Linked DNA regions of Homo sapiens: all the other regions are linked to region 1. The links are contacts of gene promoters, found by promoter capture Hi-C in human tissues and cell types (Jung and others, 2019). All regions are on one chromosome and are shown on one strand. The core of a region is centred on a gene start or on the middle of the fragment in contact, and the rest is flanking DNA. Distances in the headings are between cores, read along the strand shown.

The links. Contacts are between HindIII fragments. The study calls those that stand out against the background at their distance.
Region 2: a fragment that was not itself captured here is called in contact with the fragment with the promoter of MRPS31 in region 1 in 1 of the 25 tissues and cell types used here (mesenchymal stem cells).
Region 3: a fragment that was not itself captured here is called in contact with the fragment with the promoter of MRPS31 in region 1 in 1 of the 25 tissues and cell types used here (heart left ventricle).
Region 4: a fragment that was not itself captured here is called in contact with the fragment with the promoter of MRPS31 in region 1 in 2 of the 25 tissues and cell types used here (H1 embryonic stem cells and spleen).
Region 5: a contact is called between a fragment that was not itself captured here and the fragment with the promoter of MRPS31 in region 1, in 4 of the 25 tissues and cell types used here (dorsolateral prefrontal cortex, hippocampus, lymphoblastoid cells and 1 more).
Region 6: a contact is called between a fragment that was not itself captured here and the fragment with the promoter of MRPS31 in region 1, in 2 of the 25 tissues and cell types used here (H1 embryonic stem cells and spleen).
Region 7: a contact is called between a fragment that was not itself captured here and the fragment with the promoter of MRPS31 in region 1, in 2 of the 25 tissues and cell types used here (dorsolateral prefrontal cortex and liver).

Annotation. Positions count from the first base shown.
Region 1 is chr13:40,769,509-40,772,959 of GRCh38, reverse strand. It overlaps MRPS31 (mitochondrial ribosomal protein S31), which reads left to right and starts at 1,770. Exons shown (of 7, transcript NM_005830.4): 1 at 1,770-1,975. The coding sequence starts at 1,824. RefSeq lists an enhancer at 1,712-1,881. The HindIII fragment of the contact is 6,562 bases long and covers 1-3,451 here.
Region 2 is chr13:39,879,079-39,882,529 of GRCh38, reverse strand. No RefSeq gene overlaps it. Among named protein-coding and RNA genes, the nearest start is that of MIR4305, 220 kb to the right of the region's middle. The HindIII fragment of the contact is 4,152 bases long and covers 1-3,451 here.
Region 3 is chr13:39,961,425-39,964,875 of GRCh38, reverse strand. No RefSeq gene overlaps it. Among named protein-coding and RNA genes, the nearest start is that of LINC00332, 220 kb to the left of the region's middle. The HindIII fragment of the contact is 4,852 bases long and covers 1-3,451 here.
Region 4 is chr13:40,014,615-40,018,065 of GRCh38, reverse strand. No RefSeq gene overlaps it. Among named protein-coding and RNA genes, the nearest start is that of LINC00332, 170 kb to the left of the region's middle. The HindIII fragment of the contact is 6,324 bases long and covers 1-3,451 here.
Region 5 is chr13:40,041,821-40,045,271 of GRCh38, reverse strand. No RefSeq gene overlaps it. Among named protein-coding and RNA genes, the nearest start is that of LINC00332, 140 kb to the left of the region's middle. The HindIII fragment of the contact is 3,135 bases long and covers 171-3,305 here.
Region 6 is chr13:40,086,551-40,090,001 of GRCh38, reverse strand. The region is part of intron 4 of LOC124903162; the gene reads left to right. Among named protein-coding and RNA genes, the nearest start is that of LINC00332, 94 kb to the left of the region's middle. The HindIII fragment of the contact is 4,453 bases long and covers 1-3,451 here.
Region 7 is chr13:40,121,753-40,125,203 of GRCh38, reverse strand. All of the region lies in intron 1 of LOC124903162, which reads left to right. Among named protein-coding and RNA genes, the nearest start is that of LINC00332, 58 kb to the left of the region's middle. The HindIII fragment of the contact is 3,529 bases long and covers 1-3,434 here.

The DNA.
Region 1 (3,451 bases), core at 521-3,020:
GTTTACCTGAGCCAGCATGACAAGGAATCCCTCTGTTTTAACCCTATAAGGAAGGTAACTTTGAAATGACCAATCTGATTTTTGTTCCCTGTTTCTATTTTCTTCAACTCTTTTGTGCTTGTAAAGCCAAACCCCTCTGCTCAACTCACTGGAACACTATTCTAGAATCACAAATAAAAACCAATTATGCTAAATTTGCCATAATTTTGTTTTTTGACAAAGTTATGCTTTAATTTTTGTTTGTTTTTTTACAAATCAGACAAAGTAAGCATCCCCAAGTGTACTGTGTAGAGCATTCAGTCACAAAGGTTCTGTTAGTGTTAGTGGATCTCAGGAAGATCTGCTCAATGTAAGCTGTGTTTTAGTATCACAAAAACTCACCTCCCCACCTTGATTATTTTTTGAGAGGACAGGGAAAATGTTGATGTAAACTTTGGAATGCCTTTATGGAATTTTAGGCTAGTGGTTCCCATGTGTCCTATTAGCCAACATTTCCCACCAGATTTATTCTCATCCCCTTCCAAGTTTGGGAACCCCACATCTCTTCTGGGGTCACAGTTCCCTGTTTCATGAGGGACAGGTAAAAGCCAAGTCTCTCTCTTGCATCTTTTCATCCTTTTTTTTTTTTGAGACGGGGTCTCACTCTGTTGCCCAGGCTGGAGTGCAGTGGCACAATCTTGGCTCACTGCAGCTTCCGCCTCCCGGGTTCAAGCTATTCTCCTGCCTCAGCCTCCCGAGTAGCTGGGATTATAGGCACTCGCCACCACGCCAGGTTAATTTTTGCATTTTTAGTAGAGTCAGGGTTTCACTATGTTGACCAGGCTGGTCTTCACCCCTGGCCTCAAGTGATCTGCCCGCCTCGGCTTCCGTAAGTACTGGGATTACAGGTATGAGCCACTGTGCCCCCGGCGTAAATCTTTTTTTCTTTTCTTTTTTGTTTTTTTGAGACAAAGAATCTCGCCCTGTAGCCCAAGCTGGAGTGCAATGGCGCGATCTCGGCTCACTGCAGCCCCCACCTCCCGAGTTCAAGCGCTTCTCCTGCCTCAGCCTCCCCAGTAGCTGGGATTACAGGCGCCCGCCACCACGGCCGGCTAATTGTGTGTGTGTGTGTGTGTGTGTGTTTGTATTTTTTTTTTTTTTTTTTTTTTTTAGTAGAGATGGGGTTTCACCATGTTGGCCAGGCTGGTCTCGCACCCGTGACCTCAAGTGACCCACCCGCCTCGGCCTCCCAAAGTGCTGGGATTACAGGCGTGAGCCACCGTGCCCGGCCATAAAGCTATTTTTGAAAAATGAAACCTATGTCTCATTTTGACTCTACATCAAAAATAAAGACTGAAAGGAAACGCTAATTCATAGGGCAGCAGGTCTTTTAGTAATTTTTTTTAAACCTCTTTGGTGGCCATGGCGCATTTTGAGAACGTGGTGAACGCTGTAGACCCTTCCCCTCCAAACATCGCAAAATATTGTCTGTTAAAGAAGAGACTGATCTCACTGGCACCATCTGTAGTTTTTGCACAACTGGTCACGCCCTCCACTGTCGGGTTCGCCGGTCTGGGACCCGCCTCGGCCAGCGAACCTTTGCTGAACTCTGGCGAGGACTCCGCCTCTAGGACTACAATCGCGGGGTGGGTCGGGTCGCTTGGAGGCAACTGGCTCCGCCCGGCCGCGGGCGAGTCCGGAACACAGTTACCCGCCCCTGTAGCCCACCGGAGCGCAAAGGGGGAGGAAGGCGCCAGGCCGGAAGCGGAAGAGAGGGCGGGGACGTGTTTGGCAGCGGGACGCACCATTTCAGTTGTGTTCTTGGTTCATTTCGTGTCTCGGCGATGTTTCCTAGAGTCTCGACGTTCCTACCTCTTCGCCCCCTTTCCCGCCACCCTTTGTCCTCTGGAAGCCCGGAGACATCAGCGGCTGCGATTATGCTACTCACTGTTCGGCACGGAACAGTCAGGTACCGCAGTTCAGCGCTGTTGGCCCGGTAGGTCCTCAGGCAACCCCGTGCCCCGTCCTGTACATCCTCCGACTTCCTGGGGTCGATGTTACCACCTGCTGGGTCTTAGAAGCTATTGCTTTAAATCTGAGGAAAGAGAAATCCCAGAAAGAAAAGATGACTTGCCCAAGGTCATAGTGTGCGTGAAAACAGAGCTACGATTACAAACCTGGTCGCTGTGCTCTACTACACGCCGCGCCTCATTCCTCTTGTCATCATCTCCTGTCAGTTTACCCAGGTTTTTATCTTTTGCCTCCCAAGATTTATTTGATAGTCTCATTTGTTTTCCTTCATTTATTCTTTAGTTCATTACTGAAAAACTCGAAAAACAGCGTGCCAGTACTGGTTGTAAACCCCAAGTGAGACAGTCCTGCCATCACGGAGCGTGTAGTTCCAGAAAGTAGACAATTCAAGTGCTATGTAGTGAAGTAATAGCTGAGATAGTGTAGGTAAACAGAGTACACTATTCAGCCAACATGAATGAGTACTTGCTGGGATAGCAAATAGGGACACCTAACCATTATAGGGGAGACTCAGGATATCGTTTCTGGAAAAGTCTGACGAAATCTGAAGGAGGACCACTGGTTGAAGTTAGCCAGGAAAAAAGGGAATTGTGGCATACTTGGTTTTGGTATTTATCCTCCGAGAACTTTATTATGAAAACCTAATTCCGCTGCATAAATTCCATGCGTAACACTCAGAAGGCAGTTTGGTTAAGTACAGTGCTGAAGCAGGTTAGTAGCAGTGAAGATGGGAAGGACCAGCTGAATGGAGGAGAAAAATTGCACAGGTAGAATTAAAGGGATGTGACGTCATGGGATAATGGTAGGGTAGTCAGAGATAGCAAAAATTTCAACTGGCTGCGTTGGAGTATTAGGGTATCCTTAATGTTAACAGAAGAATGCGGAGCCAGGCTTGAGAAAGATTTTTCCATATATTATAATTTTTAGAAAACAACAAATACCTGTTTATGTTAGGGGGCCTTTTAATATAGAAAGTGTGAAAAATGGAAAGTCAGTCTGAAAGAGGAGTCTTGAATGTGGTGTTGAAGGTGTTGCATTTGAAGTACTGATGAGCTGCTGTCAGTGGAAACAAACTCAGGTGGGAGGTTAGGTCGAGAGGTTTATTATTTTTAGTGCTAGGGAGTTACTTAGACGTGATTTTCCTATAATGTAGATTGTTTTCTGTGGTATGATAGCAGTCTTGAAAGAAAACATTGTAGTAAAGATTACATGTGAGATTCATTCCCCTGATTACCACTTTTCTATTAAAATACCTTGAATAGTAACTTTAAATGTAAAATAATGACCATTTTCTTAAATAGATTGTACCATATATTGAATATTATAATGAGAGTCCTGTGTACTGATTATGAGGATACTAGTTATGCAGTTGGTTTTTTATTCTAATTTTTAAGTGCCTGATTTGATAGCCTCTGACGTTTTCATAAGCAGATCAAATAGT
Region 2 (3,451 bases), core at 401-2,900, 890 kb after region 1:
TCTGTACAGGCTGTACCAGTGGGCTCCCTGCTCCAGTGAAAGGAAAGGGCGTCTGTGCATTCCCTTCCTGCAGTGTGCACAGATTGGCTATGTTTTCCATCAAATGCCACAGCCTCTCTCCAGTAACATTCTACCTATGGTTACCCTCTCTGAGATCTGGAACTGGCACACTTCTCTTCAGATTCAAGAGCAATAAAGAGCTCATGCATCATTATCAGTTTCTGCCATTTTAGCCCAGGGTCTTTCAACATCCCTCTTACATGCCCTTACATCTTCCCATCCTGTTTTAAATCGCTCTTTTATTAACATTTATCCCTGAGTAACAGTTTGAGAATGCCATCTGTTTCCTGCTGGAACTCTGATGGACACACTGCACCATTGGCTGCTATTGCTCTTTCAGAGAAATGCATCTGATTCTGGAGAAATGTGCTTGGATACTAGCAGATTCTGGAGACTACTTTATGTCAAGAGATAGGAATTCATTTCCCTGAATGAATTTATAGCATTCATCAGGGTTGGTAGTCAGCTTGGGGCTCAGAAAATGTCTGTTAGTGAACACATAGCCTTGGTCATACCCTGTAATCTGAAACATGAACCAATTTATGGCTTAAATACTACAGGGCAAGATTGTTCTCCCTTCATGTGCGGGCAGTGCAGAGCAGCAATTTCTCATCACAGTGGCCTGTCCCAGCAGTGGCCTGTCCTGCCTTCCCCCAAATTGAGAAAGCTAGTGCGTCCTGTGTCCAGACGAGCTGTCCATAAGGTAAGATCAAACACTAATTGTTCTCTCTTGAATTCATCCTTCTCACTATTGACATCCTTTTTTAAGCACAAACGAAGCCACTCCTTTGCCAGAAAGCACCAGTGGCTGACTTTGACAAGACCAGGATGACAAATACTCAACATGTGAGCTGTCACTCCTGCTCTCACCTCCATGGCATGCTCACCCTCTAAAGCTGCTTTCAGTCTTGGACACCTTCACCTTCCAGCTCTCCAGATAGCCACTATTTATAGTGTTCTCCACTCAATATAAATGTCTTTTACCACCTTGCTCTTCAAAATATGATGTGCTTCAAATTCAAAAGCATAGCATTATACAATGTGGTCCCAAATCATCTAGGCAAGCATCTTAGCACTTCTCTCCTATTCTTTTGTGCCATATCTTTAACACTTTGCACTAGTCATAGCACATATTGGGTATTCTAAATATATGTTAGACCAACATTTATACAGTCCTATGAATTAAAGTTCTCTGTGTTACACCCATGAACATGCAACATTTAAATCTGGAGCTAACCATAGTTTGAGTCAAATATGTTTGATGTATTGCAATAACACCAGATAATATTTGTAAATTAGCTTAGAACATTTGTTCATACATTTATTTGTACAATTTAAAGAGTAGAAAAGTTCTATTAGATGAAAGTTCAGAAATATTTTCCTTACAGAGTAAAAGCTACGAATTCAGCTTGATGTGCCTTCAACTGGTCTTTTCAAGCAAAGGGCCTGATGACATTGGTTTTCTCACAAGTGAGGGGACATAACTTTCACATGTGAGATTGACTGTTGTTTTCACTGTAGCTCAACTATCTGGACTGTAGCTTATTGTGTCTGAGACAAGGCCCAAAGCAAATCACAAATTATTGTCATTCTCCCAATTTTACCTCTCCTTGGAAAAACCAATTACATCATTTATCTGCTGACTCTTTTTTGGTGTAAGCTTATTAACACTAATTTACTGAATTTGCATTAGAATTTCAAATTTAGTTGCTTTAACAGAAGAGTAAAACAAAACCACTATTTTTTAAAATAGCGCTAAAATTTTTAAGTGTGTTTCGAGAAAAGAAATTGAATTCCAAATATAGACAACTCCTACTTATTAATGCCAATAGGGAGCATGGCAAGTTGATAGTCAGATGAATTTCTGTCCAGCAATATTTACTGAGAGACTGCTGTGTCAGAAGAGGCTGAAGACTGGAGAAGGTTGAAGGTCAAGGGAGGCCACTGCCCATCCTCCCACAGCATGCAGGCTCCTGGGGATAGAAGATGTACACAAATTGTTGTAAATGTCGTAACTCAATTATTAATTTTAAACTGAACTCTTTAGATAATATTTTCACGCACTGTTTATGGAGCATTTGTTGTGTGATGAGCAATCATTATTTTTCATGTCTTATGTCATTTAGTTCTCATGATAATTTTACGAAGTAGATTTTATTACTTATTCCACTTTAAAGATGGGGAAACTGAAGTTCAGAAAGTATGGATAATGCAAAGTTTAATTCACTAGTAAGCCAATGCTCACAAAGAGCCAGAATTTTGGAGTTATATTTTTAGACGGACACACTTTGAAAACATTAAAACTTAAGAGTACAAATCATTCAAACACTTAACTATCAGTTCCTGGATAACTCAAGATATTCCAAATACATAGTAGTTGGTAGCTGACAACCTAAAAGCTAGTTTTGTTCTGAGTAATTTATTTACCAAAATCTTTTTTACACAAATAAACTCCCTGGAAAATATTTTCAAAATCATTTCTAAAGCCGCAAAAACAAATTTAGACCTAGAAAAAATAGATTGTAGATTTTGATCTCAGCACAGGATTTATCTTTATAAATAACCCAGGGTGGTATGTGGATGTGTGGCTGAAAGTGATAAGATTATAGAATATCAACTAGAAACACAGTCACAATAGTGGAGTCTGGGGGAATTTGGCACAATTGAAATAGCTTTATTATTGTTGTTGTTTTAACATATTTTGAAAGTGGAAACAGTGGGCTAAGACGGAAAAATACTTTTCTTATGAGAGACTTTGATTTCTCTGTAACTTCCAAAATAGGAAGCAAACTGTGGAATCCAATTACTTCCACTAAGAAATTACAATTGCTAAAATTTGAGGAAACATACCTCTCTTTCAGTGCAGTGTTTCTAGGTGCCATAGAATGTGACCCTGAAAGCAGCTTTCACAATTTGAGACTCTGGGTTTAGCTACAGAAGGGTTCCAGGACTTGAGTCTCATATCTACTCTTATTTGCAGAGAGTCCAGAAATGTGTCGACAGACACAGCTGAACAAAATCTGAATGTCCTTCCAAGAGCTCCCTGCACAAATGTCCTGCACAAATACAAAAAAGCAGAGGGAACTTCTCTAAGAAGATGGCTCAAGAATCCCACAACCACAATTTCCTTGGTCAGGGAAACTGCTCTTTTGTACGAAGCAGTGGGCCAGAAGGTATTTCAGAATCTTTGGAAAGAAAGAAAATCGAGGAACTTGAGTTGCGTATATAAAGTCTTGGGTTTTTAGTCCAGGGTTCTAGAACACCCCGGCAGTTTGTGCTTGTGCTTTGTGCATTAGGGGGAGAAATGAGAGAGTCAGAGATTGCTTTAGTTTGGCAGGTGACATAGCTTGGTGTTGAAGCAAACCCACTTGAGAACTAGGCAATGCAAGTT
Region 3 (3,451 bases), core at 498-2,997, 810 kb after region 1:
ATCTTGGAAGTCTCCCTATCCTATCTACTGGACCAGTGTATTCCAAATATTGTAAAACTGAAACAAGTGGAGAAATGACTCAATACTGAGGATAAGAGAACTATTGTCATTCCTAACCCCAAATTTCTAATTCGCTCTCATGTTTGGAAAGCTAGTCTCATTATTTTCATTGATTGAACTCATAATAAATTTCAATTTATACCAGCAAATTCATATTAATAAAATGTCTTCTTATATCTGGGTACATATGGTACTTCCTTAGAAGAGTTTGTTGGGTAGGAGGGATGGGATAGAATATTTCTGTTTAAAACAAGTATTAAATTGTCTGGACTACCCTATGCACCATGGAAAATCAGGGAATTGGACTTTTAAATTATATTAAAGCTTCTGGCCAGGCACAGTGGCTCAAGCCTGTAATCCCAGCACTTTGGGAGGCCAAAGGGGGTGGATCACCTGAGGTCAGGTGCCTGACCAGCATGGCAAAACCCTGTATCTACGAAAAAATACAAAAATTAGCTGAGGGTGGTGGCATATGCCTGTAATCCCAGCTACTCAGGAGGCTGAGGCAGGAGAATTGCTTGAACCTGGGAGGTGGAGGTTGCAGTGAGCCAAGATCAAGCCGCTGTACTCCAGCTTGGGTGACAGAGTGAGACTCTTTCTCAAAAATAAAAATAAAAATAAATAAATAAATAAATAAATAAATAAATAAATAAAATTCAACTTTCCTTCCAGCTCTACAACTCACTTTTCTCATCTGAAAAATGTTCAGACTAATTCTGCTCTGACTACCTCACAGGTGTGTTGGCAGAATTAAATGATTGATAATAAATGTGAATATATTGTTAAAGTTATAAAATGTTGTTCAATAAAGAAGTTTCCAATATTGAACCAGTATTGAATTTGATCAGATTGCCAGGTCCCTTGAGTTGTCCACATGTGGGACAAGGGAGTACAGGTGAAAATAGCTTTCTGAAGAAAGAAGTGGGAGCATTCAGAGAGCTGCAGTGATTGGTCCATGCCTCTTGGTAGGCACAGCTGCAGGCTGAAGCAAGCACCTGTTTCCCTGGGCCTCTCTGTAAATGACTGGGACTCAATGAGTGCACCTCAGAACTGCAGTGACAGAAAATGACTCAGAACCAGGGAAAAAGATGTTTCCTCCAGGTGACATGGCTGAAAACAATTTGATTATAAGCAATTAAATTCCAAACAAAATGGCAGTGATGAAAATCGACAACTTAGCTTTGGATGAATATTTGGTTTGAAAGATTGTTTCTTTTTTTAAAAAATAAATATGTCTCAAATACAATTTTTTTTCCTGCATGGAAAATTTGGGTTCATCATCAGTTAGTTTTGCAACTATGCAAATGTTAATTATTTTTGCTTTTAAAAAATGTATTGGTGAATAAATACATTTCTCTTTTTTCCCTAGTTTTCTTTCTTCCAATGCATTTTCTGCCAATGAAATAATTGTACTCTGTGGAGTTTGTAATAGTGAAACTGTGCCAGCAATTTAAAAGTTGCTTCCAACTCCTCAGTGTTACAAATAATGCAGGGCAGGAACATTTGGCTGAAAGTAATTGTGAAATTAAAAATCATAAAAGTAGAAAAATTCTGAAGAGACATAGATGTCAACTGAGGATATTCCATTTGGATCATGTCATCATGCCAACCAAATTATTGTCCCGAGTTACTCATTTTCCTCCAAAACACACTTCAAGTTTCAGCATCTTGGGGAAGCTGCAGAATGCAGGGCTCTGGGCAGGGTCAACATTTTCACCACAGACCAAAGCTCTAGGGACAGTGGCAAAGCATCCTCTTTGCATGATGGCCTGGACAGCAGACACCAACAAGGAAGGCATGGAGGGGAGCTTGAAAAGATGACTAATAAATATGTGTAAGATGTCCCCGGCCAGACCCATCAGTCATTTAACGGGCTTTAGGGGAAATTGAATGTCTTGCAGTAAGCAGTTAAGTCCAAAAAGACAATGAAATTTAAAATGTCACTGTTAATGGTATTTCTTGTGAGATCTAGGGAGATTCAAATTATACAGCTGTAAGAAGTCATTATACACTTTGCCATCACCTTACCACTCATTTCAGATAGTGATTGTCAAGATAGGGTGCATGCTATTCACAATAGCAAAGACGTGGAATCAGCCCAAATGCCCGTCAATGATAGATTGGATAAAGAATATGTGATACATATACACCATGGAATACTATGCAGCTATAAAAAGCAATGAGATCATGTCCTTTGCAGGGACATGAATGGAGCTGGAAACCATTATCCTCAGCAAACTAATGCAGGGACAGAAAACCAAACACCACATGTGCTCACTTATAAGTGGGAGCTGAACAATGAGAACACATAAACACATGGTTGGGAACAACACACACTGAGTCCTGTCAGGGGCATGGGGAGAGGGAGAGCATCAGGAATAATAGCTAATGGATGCTGGGCTTAATGCCTAGGTGATGGGTTGACCTGTGCAGCAAACCATCATGCCACATGTTTACCTGTGTAACAAAACTGCACATCCTGCACATGTATCCCAGAACTTAAAATAAAAGTTGAAGGAAAAAAAATAGGGTGCAAGCAGAGATACAAAAGATGATCCAGTTAACCTAAAACTGCTCTAAAAATAGTCCGTTTTTAAAAAAGATAATCCACTGAGGTATGGGAAAACATTACAACTTTCATTTTTATATGCAAAAATATCAATGAAATGAAATACGCCAATATGTGATATAAGAATTAGCACCACCTCCCACACTTGCTTCATACAGTCAATGGTCCTAGGTCATCAATATCATGGGAAGAGTGAGTTACTTGCCTGAATTATCTGAATTGTGATGTGTTGCAATTGATATATGCCATAGTTAAATGGATTGTATTATTTAATTCTAACTAATCTAATAATCTCCAAATATACAAGTGGTTTTAAAAAGTTTCTACAAATTAAATAGAGATTACATTCAGTATAATACTAGAATGAAAGAGCAAGTGATCAGTAAGAAAATTTTAGAGCTTTTGCATCTCCTTCTAATACGAACTTTTAATGAGCCATAAATGTAAACTTTCCCTTCACTGTAATGGTAACCTTACAACAATACATTAAAAACGACCTGCTATTTGAAAGGAAATGTTGGCTATAGAGAGAACACTGTGGAAGCAAATGTCTGGAAATGTTCCCATCGTTTTATTATTTTAGTGCAAGAAGCAATGTATTTTACCTTAAAAACTTGTAACTTACTTAAGAAACTCAGAAACTTTTTTCTAGCATGTTTAAAATCCCTCTATTTTTTTTAAAAAAGATTTGTTGCTGTTTTTAAACTCATTTGTTAAAAATGTTAAAATGTAACTACTTCTGATGAATTGAAAGAACATCTGATTGACATCAGGGAAGACAGAAAATTCCTAGCCACGTTTCAGTAAAACTTTTATACAATT
Region 4 (3,451 bases), core at 506-3,005, 750 kb after region 1:
TGTAACAGATCTTTCCCTCACCTCCCTCAGAAGGAATAAACCTGCCAACACCTAGATTTCAGACTTGAACTGTAAGACAAGAAACTTCTGTTGCTGATGCCTCTGTTTGTGGTTATTTGCTTGCAGCCCTAGCCAAAGGAGGCGGCTTTGCTTCCTCTGTCCTCAGAGTAACAAAAAGGCTCCCCTAGTGACCTACAGGGTCCTTCACTAGGGGTCCCTTACATTTCTGAGCTTTTCTCTGCAGCCTTTCCTGCAGCTCTTTCTGCTCTAGCCCTACCGGCTTCTTCATTCTTCCTCGAACAAAACAGTCTTGCTCCTGCATTACCCCTTTGTACTTACTGTCTCCTTTGGGGAGTATTTTCCTTCCAGATTGTTCCATAGCTTGCTCCTTCATTTTCATGCTCCCTCATTTCAAAATCATTTTCATGGACTTTATTCAGATGCCACCTTGTTCTCCTTAGTACTTTACTGAATATTTAACTGACTTATTTTGCTTATTATCTATCCTTCCCACATGAAAATGCAAGCCACATTAGGTCAGGAATTTTTTTCTGTTTACTGTTGAGTTTAAAACAGCTCCTGGCATGTAGTAGGAGATCAAAAATATTAACCGAGTGAAATAATGAATCATGAAGTTAAGCTCGACTCTGCCATCGAAATGCACCATGTACAAGAGGCTCGGCATACCTTCTGAAGGGTAATAGGGATTCTCGCCATACAATCACAACAATGAAAAAGAGCTTCCACAGAGTAAACGCCACCAAAGGAAGGAACAAGTACAGCTTCTGACCTTGAGACAGAACACATTAATTGGAGACCAAACACATAATGCATGAAAAAAAATAGACTAGATCCACAGAGCAGCATGTCAACATTAACAATTAGATACAGCAAGAGATTATTTCTAAAAGTGGTGAGTCATGGAGCTTTATCGTACAAGAGCCTGTTATATAAAAACAAATCAATAGGTACCTAAGCACTAGATAGTCTCATATAAACCTTATATAAGGACATTTGCAGAATTATTTTTAGAAGGGCTCAAGTATATACACTGAAAGTGTTTATAATGTGAGTACATAAAGCATATTTCTTAGCAAATACTTTGTTCCCTGAATAAACACATTCCACCAAGTGGCAGCACCAGCACCTTAAAGAAAGAGAAAACTTGAAACTACTAGGAGCGCTCTGAACAGGCACAAGGTAATCACCAAATTGGGATCTGGGTATCACCTGATAGAAGCCAATTAAGTCTTGTAGAGGTGGAAAGAGACAGAAGGAAATAAAGTTAAGGGTAAAGTAACCCTGAGATATTTGCTTTTGATCTTTCTCCTGCTCCACCTATTTCTTTTTCTTTTGTTTTTCCTTCTTTACATTCAATCTCTCCCTCTAATTTCTCAGATGAGCAATTAAATCCCCACTTTAGGTATAAGTCCCTGAAGGCAGTCATTAATAAAAAACAATCTGCAGGTAGCTTGTGTTATCCGTTTTGGTGCTGATTCACCAAGTGTTCTTAAGTTGTGTATGAAATGCTCTAAGTTCTTTGGAAGAAAATCACTACACAAAGCAGAGGTTTATTATGATAGCATCAACTGCTGTTCTTTGCCTAAAAATAATCCCAGTTTCACTTCTGATGTCTAGAAGCTTCTCTGTTTTTTCTTTCTCTATTTTCTTTTTTTCCCTCCTCCTACCATTAAAACTTCCAGCAAAACAATAAACTAGCTCATGGGGGTGGCATAATTTCAAGATTCAAAACAGAAACACATCTTTACATGAATCTACACAGTTGTGGACATTAAAGAGCCTCTTATTAAGGGTCCAACACATTTAGATAGTAACAGAATATGTGAATTTCTGGAAGTATAATTCAAAAATATGTTTTCCATTGCATCAGAAAACATTATATTCATTGGAATGGCTCCCTTACATTACAGTGAGCCAAGTTTCAGGAGCATAGCTGCAAGGTGCAGCAGGTCCTTGAGACCAAACCACACATGCATTGGAACATAGTGAACTTGATCCCCACGGTTAAAATGTTCCGCTAAGCTCATTTCTCATCACTTTGTAGTTCAGAGGCAGACTACTTCATAGTGGAGAGTAAACCCAGACATAACTTAATGTTGTGTTACACTAGATTGTACAGCCATGCAGTAAAATGTTTGAGTGACTCCAATAAATAAATATACACCTATTGATTTAATCATAAATTACATAAGGTATGGAATAGTATGTACATTAAAACATATAATATAGAACAGTTTCAATGATGAATCAAAGACAAACAGGAATTTTAAATATCTTGCTAATCACAATGGCTGTATATTCTGATTAACTAACATCTGAAGGCTTAACATAAGCTTTAGCCAAGGTTCATCTTTAATGATAATGAAAGTAAATCCCAATTTCAAAGTCTTCTTAATAATGCCAAATGTCTTCTGCCAAATTCTTCTCAGGTGTGATGAGACCATCAATGTCTTGAGCCCATATTGTGGCTGACACAGAGCCTTTACTAGGGAGAGAAGGAAGGCCAACCTACCACCTTCTTTCCTTGTGCTTATCTCACTTGCCACGATGCATTGTGGGTTTCATCATGGGTTCTTTGCGGGATTACTTTTAAGTCAGTTTTTGTGATGGTTGGTTTAACTAAAACTAGATCATATAATCCTCAAACTCAAACTCTTTCAACAAGGGCACATGTAAATGCCATGTACTATAATATTCTGGAAGCAACGGAGGCGGAAGGGCACCTGTGACTCTCAGTGGTGGAGCTCTTCTTTCATGTAACATCAGACATGAGGACTCATAAATGATAGTAAAGTTTATTATCTTTCTTATTTTTTAGATGAATATAGAAGATCTACTATGTTGTTTTCCACGTGGGGCATCCACTTTGAAAACTACTGCTCTAGAAATTTTTTCAAATGTGGGCTTCGTCTTATTTTGAAAATATGATATTTTATGATGTTGGTGGTCCCGGTTTTAATTTTGAGGTACCTGTATGAAAAATATCACATTAGAATAAACCTGGCAAATCTTTCCCCCATTGAGGCGACAAGATAGCCAAATGTCAGATTTTATGGTCCTTGTGTTTTATTGTCTTTCCTGGCACCAGCTGATAATGATCCTTCATCAGTAACATTGTGCCTATAATTGCTACTGTTTCTTATTAAAAAGTTGAAAGTGGCCGGGAGCGGTGGCTCAAGCCTGTAATCCCAGCACTTTGGGAGGCCGAGGCGGGCGGATCAGGAGGTCAGGAGATCGCGACCATCCTGGCTAACACGGGGAAACCCCGTCTCTACTAAAAATACAAAAAATTAGCCGGGCGTGGTGGCGGGCGCCTATAGTCCCAGCTACTCAGGAGGCTGAGGCAGGAGAATGGCGTGAACCCGGGAGGCGGAGCTTGCAGTGAGCCAAGATCACACCACTGCAGTCCAGCCTGGGCGACAGAGCGAGA
Region 5 (3,451 bases), core at 489-2,988, 730 kb after region 1:
CTCATGTTGTACATTGTTTCTGTAGACTTGTTCATCCTAAATATTTGGATATAAAGAAATGGAATCTTAATACAGATAATGATGATGATGACATTTGGAGAACCTCTTAGACCCTGGCTTCAATTTTTTTAGATCATGGGATTTTTTTGTTAGCCTAACGTCTTGTTCTCTCCCCATCCCTTATTTATTTGTCCTGACTGCAGAAAGTATTACCTGACGGAGGAGTTGGGAGAAAGAACTGGGCATGCTCAGTTCGGTCATCTCTTTCCTGTTTTCAGGTCTGACTTCCAGCAAAGAGGAGCTTTCTGGGCTCTCTGCACGTAATAATTTGCTTGCTCTTCCTGAGAAAACCTGCAATTGTTCAGTGATATCTGTAAGTGGGAGGACATGTTGTCTTTTTGGACAAAATATTAGCAAGGGTAAAGATCTGAGGTATTTCCTTTGATTGCCTTCATCAATAATAAAAGCAATATTTTGAGATTCATCTGGCTTATTCCAATGTCTATCTCTCAATTCTATTCCAGCTTGGGAAAGTAAGAAAGTAGCATTATTTATTCATTTTTTAAACTTTCAATAAGTAGGTAGCTCCACTTTCACATCTGAAAAATGGGGTTAATAATATTATTAAGTGAGTTAATATGTATAAGGTGTTTAGAACTTTGCCTGGCAAATAATAAGCACTTAATAAATATTAGTTACTGTTATTTGTGTTAAATTACTGCATGCCAGAACTGGGCTAAATCCTTTACACTGCATCTTCTTGTATAACATTGAGAAGAAATCTCTAAGGTGCACACTGATTACTCTTAGGTTACAGAGGAGGAAGCTGCAACTTGGGGAAGTTAAGTCACCTTGTTGAAGGTCACACATTTTGTAAGGTCTAACTTCAAAGTGCATAGCTGTCTTTTGCAAACACAAGCCATTGGTGATAAGTGGGAGAAACAAGAGAGAGAAAACCATTTGTGACAAATTTGTCACTACTACTGGAGAAGAAATTTAGAGTGCAGTTCCTACTGATGATTAGCCAACTAACAGCATCGAGTCCTGAGAAAAGGACAGTTAGTTTCTCATGATCTTTAGAAGGACCCAGTTTAACAAGAGTTAAATCCAAGTTGATGTTACATGTTCATGGATCATCAAGCATGCCCAAGAGTATTCTTGAACAATTTAAATATCACACCATTACCACTGAAAAGATTTGGGTCTTTGCCAAATGTTTGGAGCTCCAACTCCAGTTCTTTTGGTGCTTTATCTCCTTCATGAGAAAGTCTGAAGAACCCTATCCCTCAGCATTCCAGTGCGGCTTAAGTTACACCACTCCACTCTTAAAAATGGTTTCAAAATCACTTAGCCTTTTCTCTCCTCTCCAGTAATCTGGGCTAGCCAATACCTTTCTTTTCAGCATTAACAGCCTTGCAGTCAGGCTTACTGCACGTGCTTCTCCTAATCATTCCTGAAGAGGAGAAGAAAAGATCTTTTAGGAAAGAATATACGCTATTTGAAGCAGATCTTGGATCAGTGCTTGGTGGAGAAAACATGAGTTGTTAGAGAAAAACATACAGGTCCCTCAAGCAGATTTGGATCTTGCTAACATTCACGCAGGTGTTTGGAAAACCACGTATCTTTACAACCTGAATCTGAGCCAGGAGTTAAAGAAAAAGATATGTTTCTTACACTTTTGTGAGAAGATATATGTGATGGGGGACTTTCAAGAACTACAGTCATCTCTGGAGCCAAAATTTTATAACACTGAGAAGGGGGCTGTGCATTAAATTTCAAAGTGTTATTCAAATCAAGCCAAGCTGTCCAAATATCTGGAGTTAATGAATTAACAAATATTCAGAACATGTGAACAAAATCAGACAAACTTTGAAGTTTTTTTAAAAAATATGTATCGTATTTGTGTGAAGTCTAGTTTTTATTATCTGGTTTGTTATGTCTTTGGGCAAGTATAAATAGATTCTCAGGGACCTCAGTTTCCCTATCTGCAATTAGGACTAAATACAGCACATTGGCACATAAAGAGGCTTCTTATATAATGCCTATATTTCACTCTGACTTTCTTGGTTACAGCAGCTATAAAACCACGAATATCTGAGCCAGATTTTCCTTATGTCTGAACAACTCCCCCAAGGAATAAGTAAAGCACTTTTCAAAAGTACCATTAGCTCTTCTGAATTGCTGCTTTCTTGGATTGTATGGTACCCAGGTGGCTTTTAAGTGTTAACCCAACCTCCTGAAAACTGTCTCCCTGGTTTCCAAAGATTAACTAAGGCAATCGGAAGGTAAGATCTGCTCATTATTTTAACATTTTCTATATTTTCTTTATAGGGCATATTCAGCTAGCCCACCCCAGAGTTTCCATTTTATAAGAATGCTCTTTCCTAACAAAAAGGAATATTTATGAAGCTTTTTCTGACATCTCCAAAATCAGAGTAATAAAAAATTGTTTAAATTGCTAATATGAAACTAATGTTAAACTATGATAAGCAATAAGGTATAATTGCATGAGAGATTTAACAAAATTCTACCGTATTACACACTTGTATTTGTAACTATTAAGTTCCAAGCTTCAGAAAGAGAAAAAGAGGTAGTTTGTTAAATTATAGGATTCAGTAATCATAAAAGGGATGGTCTCTGCCCAAACTTCACATAAATAAAATTTGTGCGTGTCAAGGGGTTTTGATGGAGACACAAATTTTACTCATGCATTTTACTCTTGAGGCTTTATTATGTTTCCAGGATCACAGTTGAAATTATAGCTTTGAAATGTCCAGAAATGTACTCTTGATTTCTTAGGTAAATTATATATGAAGATGTGCTTTAAGTATTTAAAAAATTTATAGTTGCTTTAAACGGTATTGAATCCAAGGGTCTTTGGGCCTCAAAATAGAGGAAAAAAAACCACTGCTGATTTAAAAAATAACATTTCCTTTTTCTTAAAACATTTCCCTTTTCTTATCTGCATTATAGAAAATTTAGGAATTGTACATAAGCACAAAGAAGAAAAAATCATGCATAATTCTAGCATTTAGGAATCAAGATCATTGTACTGTTATTACATATTCTTTTCTCCATCATTTATAACGACCATGTGGTATAACATTGTATGGATATACCATAATTTATCCAACCAACTCCTTATTGTTAGAAATGTAGGTTCTTTTTTTTCCAAAACACATAAAATGACAATGGGTACTGCTGTAGGTAAATATCTGTACAGATCCATTGGATCATCTATGATTAACTTTGGGCAGAGACAGAACTTACAAGCGGAGAAAACGTAAAAGGTGGGGAAGCAAAGAAGCCTTGTTTTTTAAGAAGTCTGCTCTGGCTTCCAAGGTCATCTAGGCTGGAGTCAGACTCCTGCTGCTTGTGGAGCTTTGAGAGGCAGCCTCCTCCTTCAAAGACTGCTCCGCACAGCTTCATGATTAGAGATCTTCAAGATTCT
Region 6 (3,451 bases), core at 501-3,000, 680 kb after region 1:
AAAAAAAAAAAAGAAATGACGGAAGACCTGGAAGTCACTTAACAAGCATCTGGAACATATAGGTGGAACAAAATAAGAGTGGAACAAAAGACCAAGAGTTTATTTTTAAAAGAAACAGGCAGTGACTTAATAGAAATCAATTGGCTGGATGAAAATGTTAAAAATTTAGTAAATAAGTTTGTCCTGCTACCTTAGTTTAATCAGCAGAACCATCTTTTTTGGTTGTTGTTGCTGGTGGTGGCACAAGAGCAATAATTACTTCCTCTCCCTTGTTAGGGACCCACCCCCTCAGTAGTGGCCATAGAGGAAGAACCCCCACCCCTCTAGAAGTGCCTCCTCCTCAGGAGGCCAAGGAGCTCTGAGAATGCACATTCTGATTCCTCTGGTACATAGTTTAGAAAGGCCTCTCGTTATTGTCAACTGCAAAATAAAAAGCTTCTTTGAGATGGCCTGTCCCATTTTAATGGCCCTTGGAGACATGCAGATAACTTATGGAGCCTCCTAACTTTGTACAAAAGACAAATGAATTATAAAGGTCACATAAACATATTGTTGAAAGTAATAATGGCATTTGTGCGGCACATTATGGTTTGCAAAGAAATGCCTCCTGTTACCGTATTTGAGCTTCGTAAAAACTCTTTGTAGTAGGTTGTTATTCTGAGTAACAATAGCCCCTTATATTTCTTGGCTTGAAAATGTACTTTTTCATTATATTTATTTGATTGTATTTCTCTATTGCTTTCTTTGGTATTCCTAAGTCATTTTTATTTCACTCTCCTACTCCTAAAACCGTCAATACATTTCTAGAATTAGATAAAATCTCTCATTCAATGTCCTTCATATTTCAGCTCAGACCATTCTTCCAACATATGTCCTTATGCTCACCTTCTTGAAAACACCTTTATCTTTGTTCTCTCTGTTCTCCCTCCTCCAATCCTTTTTTTTTTCTCTTCTCCCATCTTCTCTGCTTTTACCAAGGCTCCATCCTTGACTTCGACCAGCCCCTACAGGCTTCCTTAGATATCACCTCCTTGGTTAAAGTCTTTCCTGCCAATACCCTCAAACTTGGATGTGATATTTTCCTTTTCAGAATTTTCCATTTATTTGATATATTTGTTTCGAAACTTATGTCGTAACAGTGGCAAGGACATTTAGTGAACTAGTTTATTAGATTAAAATTTCTTGAAGGCTATGGCTTTGTTTTCTTCTTGATTCAAACCCCAGATCAAGTATCATTTCAACTATGAATTGTTTTCCATGGACAGTTAATAATTCCCTTTTCTCCCTATCATGTATTTTTTATATACTTTACCCAGATGTGCTAATCACGTTGTATTGAAATGGTTGGTTTTAATGTTTGTCTTCCCCGTTAAGCTAAAAGCACCTCAAAGGAGCACAGCATAGTTGTTAAGCGGCCAGACTGCCTAGGCTTAAATCTCAGCTCTGCTATTTACCAATAGTGTGACCGTGGGCAAGTTACTTAACCTCTCCGTGCTTCAGTTCCCTTATCTTTAAAACGGAGATAAAAATACTACCTTTCAGAGTTGCTGCGATAATTAAATTAATTAATGCATATAAAATGCTTATCAGATAGTATGCAATTATAATTATTATACTATGTTGTCCTTCATATTTTTATTGACAAGAACAATGCTTAAACTAAGCAGGCGCATGACAAATGTTTGTTGAATAAATAAATAAAAAAACGAGGGAAGATGCATAGGATGCTTCTTTCTAATAGATTCTAAACTCAAAGATAGAGACCGTCCTTCACCTGTAGATTTTCCACAACAAATTAATGACGTTTATAACAGATGATCAATAAGTATGTGTGGCGCATACTTTATAAATATTAATCCAGTGACTGGCAGGTTGAGAAAAATAAAAATAATAAATTGTGCAATGAATTCAGTTTAATCAAATAAATGATCACACAGGATTTTACATTAAGGTTGTGAGACACATTTCCCTCTTGTTTTAAAGCTCCCTGTTGGGAAGATGTTTCAACATGCATGGCTGTGCTTAGCCAGACCTTAGCTCTCTAATAATACGGAGGAAACCTGCCAGGTAGACATCAATTGGGGATGCCATCCCTGGGAGATAGATGAACATCACAGTGGGAGCCAGGATCACGCAACAGAGGTGGAGTATTAACACAGCTTCTGTGGCTCCCAAAGGGTGGAATGCAGACTCCAGACAGACCACTCTTTGGAAAGGTGTAGACAGCTGTGCAGTAGCCCCACTCTAGATCTGATAGATGTGGACTTTGAGCCAAAACGGAGGCTTTGGCTGGAAGAGTGAATCAACCGGGATTTTGAAAAGGCAGATTAGAAAAAAGAAGAAAAAAAGCCCTTCTTGGCAGATGAATCAGACAGGTATGGGGCTATTTCACAGTCCAGCAAATGTGCACATGCACACTCATGTCAGCGACCACAGCATGAAAAAAGCAGGGACCTGTTTGTTCAGTTAGAAATGCTTACCCCGGCCTCTTCCCCTCCCTTTCTGCTTTGTCACTCATTCTGTGTTGGATAGGTGTTCTTTTTCCCCTCATCCCCTCGGCTTTTTAAAGTAACATTAGCGGAGCAGTTAATGAGGCGGTGGAAAGCAAGCTGGTCTGTTCAGGGTTGCTAATGACTCCATTCCCGGGAGCCTAATCAAAGATTTGTACATTTAATTGCTGTCAAGCCACCGCCAACCACCTGCCATTTCGGCAGCACCTCAGCTCCCAGCTCGGTAGCCCCTGATTCTAAATGAATCCATCACCATTTCTAAAGGCCAGGAAGCTAGGCTGCTGGGCAACTTTGAAGTGGGCTTGTCCAGGAGGGCAGAGACCAACAGGCCTAACGGAGAGGTGTCACTTCCCTGACAGGGCCAGCATTGGAGAGGCGCCTGCACTTTTCTAGGATCCAATTTCTGCTTTTTTTTTTTTTTCCAGGGGGAGGAAAAGATAGGTGTGGTGAGGGTGACAGTGCGGAAAGGAGGAGAGGAGGAGAGAAGGTGACATCTAACCACATTCTTCAGAATCTACTGATGCTTTTATTCTCAGGGGTGACAATTTCTGACCCCAGCGCATGGTTGTGCCACAGATGAATGTTTGCTGGAGATCCTTTCCAATTAAAATGGTGATTGTTCTATTGCTTACCCCCATCCAGATTGTAGTTGTCCTCTAAGCTTTTTTTTTTTTCTGGAGATTTGGAGAATGAGAAAACATAGTCATTCTGGACCTGAGTGTAACCTAATGGTGAAACAGGCTAGCTACTTCATGGGGTATAAATCAGGCAAGAAAATTATGTTTAGCCATTGTTTGGACTGCAATAAAAATTCTTTAAGCTCGGCCGGGCGTGGTGGCTCACGCCTGTAATCCCAGCACTTTGGGAGGCCGAGACGGGCGGATCACGAGGTCAGGAGATCGAGACCATCCTGGCTAACACGGTGAAACCCCGTCTCTACT
Region 7 (3,451 bases), core at 421-2,920, 650 kb after region 1:
CTAGTGAGGCAAGAAGCACAAATAAGTAACCTGTTACCTGGGAGCACAACAGCAATTCTTTCATAAATGAATGTCAATGAGGGATAATTTTCTTCTGTAGCAGAATCTCTACACCTGACAGTATTCTTAATATACTTTAATTAAGAGGTTAATCTGTTGTAGAAATTGCTTTTCTCTGAAGCCACCTGAAATCAATTTAAACTCAATTACAAGTGGTTAGCTATTGTTTATGTGGTTAAAGATTAGAGAATACATTTTTGCCTGTCAGGAGCCATCAGAGCAAATTTTGAATGTCACGATCAAAGGAGAGTCTGAATAGTTGAGTGCTCTTTAATGGGCATAGAGAAACCATTAGAAAATGTAATCAGTCATATTTGATGACTTGACCTTGGGACTCAGCTAGAAAAAGGTCTAATCATGTCTATCCCATAAGTGACACCAGGATGGCTCTGCTGAAATTAATTGATCATTACGTACTTTCTGAGAGTCTCATATACCCTATTTGATGGAATATAAATTGCAAAAATAATCTGTAAATTATATAACAAGCTTCAGAGTACATTTGCCCTCTGTCTCCTTAGCAGAGATTAAATCTGACAGCTAGTTTCAAAATGATCAAAATTGCTTAACTCCTTCAATAGTTTGGAATGCTTGAGATTTACAAAGGAAAAAAAAATCTATTGCTCGGCATGTGCCCAGTATATAAATTTGAATTACAATCCATTCTCTATCAGTAAAATGTAGAGATAAAAAGAGGTCTGAAAAGGTTTTCTGGGGGCTTGAATGCATTATTTTATTCAATTGCTTAGTAAGGTACTTAGCTGCTATTAAAAATTTGGATGCATGTCAGAGACAAGGAAGCTGTTTTGAATCCTATCCACTTCAGTGCTAAGTATATGAAAGAATTAGATGTCTCTAATAAGCCAGCCAGCTTGCTAATGTGATATCCCACAGACTGGCTGAGCCATTCACAATGACAGTGCACTCCACTGATTATCTGTAGGTTAAAGGTTTCTTGTCATCCTTTCAGGTGTCAAAATGATGATTCCAATTACCTCTCTCTGTTTATGTGTACTTTTCTGGGATCAAGACATTCTGCCATTATAATGTACACATTCCATGACATTTTGGTTAAAGTTGCAGAAAGTCTCCCTCTAGAACTGCCCCTCCCACCTCGGAGAATTATTCAAATAATTTTCCTTTGGGCTGGCACTTTTCATATTTGAAATAAACCCTTCTAGGATTTTTCTCCATAAATGTTGAATGGTTAACTGTTGAGTAGAGGAAGACCATCTGTTCTTGCCTAATTGGCATAATAAAGGAAGACCACATTTTTGGAGCCTGGAAAAAAAATATGTGTCATGAAATGGGCTCAAGCTAGTGTTCTGCATAAGAGACTATGCTCTAGATGCCAGGACAGTGGTAGGTTTTCCAGAAGAAAGCTTTCTGGGAACTTGACCTTTGTTATCTCTTGGGAGTGGAGTTAGGGGTGGCTCAGCTATAGGAACCATATTTATTACGTTAGGGCTCTGAATGACACTATACAGATTCAAATCCTGGCTCTATCACTTCCTAACTTTGAGTCTTGGGGCAGATTTCATAGCCTCTTAAAGTCTCAATTCCCCCCGCTGTAAAATGGAGATAATCATGAAGATTATATGCAATAACACGTGTAAAATGCTTGGTAGGATGTCATGCACATAGACTTGCTAAACTCTTCATCGTAATTAAAGCATACAATGATTTGGTGTCTATTTTTTCTGAGCCCTAAATTGGGATGTGCGATTTGAGAAAGGATTATTTTTCTTGGCGTGTTAAATTTTTGATATGAAGAGTCTTACAAAGATACCAAAATGCACTGTATTCGATTTTTCATTTCACAAATCCCCTTTGCAACAACTTCTCCTGGAGTGAGGATGGGGGTGAGGGATAGGAAAGGGTTTCAAGACAAGGTCTGCACTGAGAGGCAGGGGCCTGAGCTAAGGTCTCAGCTCAGCTGTAAATCAGCTGTGCAAAGTTGGGAGCAAGAAGTCTGTTTCTTCTTTGGGCTCAGATTATTTGTGTAAAATGACAAGGTTGAAAAGACTGTTGAGGTTGTCGGGAGCACCGAATGTCCAAGATTCTATATTGCTGATCGTCTCTGTCAAAGTATTTCCTGCCCCACTAGCCATGACATGGTCTATAGGCAGAGAGAGTGTGGGCACATACATGCCTGCATGAGTAGTGGTGGTGACCCCACACCTGTGGACTTCAGCCTCATGCTCCCTGACTCCTCTGTTCACAGCACATGGTCCCATGTGTGTGGCTTCTTTTGGGTGGCCACTCACTAAGGCAGCCTTTGGGAACCATGGCTTTCTTTAAGAAACATCAAACAAAAATCCTACACTTCCTCTCTTTGCGCCACCCTGGGAGACTCTGAAAAGCCTTCTTCAAAACCCCCAGTACCACTCCCTATGTTACAGGATATTATTTTGGGAGTGTTGCTTTGTCCCACTTTGTTTCACCCCTCCCTAGATACCCACTCCAGCAGAGGTCATAAAAGGGCATTCATTGAGGGCCAGTTTCCCCAAAAGGAGTTTTCACAATTGGAATTAGTTTCCAACATTTAAAAATAAAAGGATATTACATAAAACCCAGATTGCTGACTTCTTTTGAAAAAATTTAAAAAGGAAAATATGACCAGAGTTTTCCCAAGAAGGATGACCTGGTCCTTACACCAGAGGGTGAGGAGTCAGCCTGGGATCTGAGCAGGGCAATGCCCTGGGTCCCCACTCCAGGAAGTCTCAGTAGCACATTGAGCACTGTCCCCTCTCACCTCTGTTAGCTCCACAGGACCATCATGTTCACCAGTCACCTTGAGACCCTTGCTGGTAGAGTGTCAGGCACATAGGGTTGCTAAACTCTTCTTCATTATTAAGCAAAGCATACAGTGATTTGGTGTCTCTTTTTCTCTGAGCTCTAGATTGGGAGGCATGACTTGAGAATTATTTTTCCTGGTCCCACTTTGGAGAACCTCACTTCTGTCCCCTGACTTGCTTCAGTCCTGAAGTTACCTGCTGGGCATTTTCCCCTTTCCTTAGGTTCATCCATGAAGTCAACCTTTATAAGTTACAGTCCTTGAAGATTCCATCCTTGTGATCATGCAAATCCCTGGAACAGGAATTGCATTTTGAGCTTTAAATAAGTTATGCATTTAAAGACCAAAAGCCCTGAGCACACGTTTTGCTAAGAACTGGGAGGAATGAGTTTGAGGACACATAGCAGCTGGGTTGGGTTAGAGGATTAAACCAAGAATCTGAGAAGGGTGGGAGTGAGGGTGGCAAGAGACTGCTAGCTTTTATAATCCTTCCTCAACTAGTTCTGGAATTCTGAGTGGAAGCAAGAGGCAGGGAGAAATGGGGCATGAGCCAGCCCTGTCTCATACAGTTATTCTCCTCTTGCCTAGACCAGC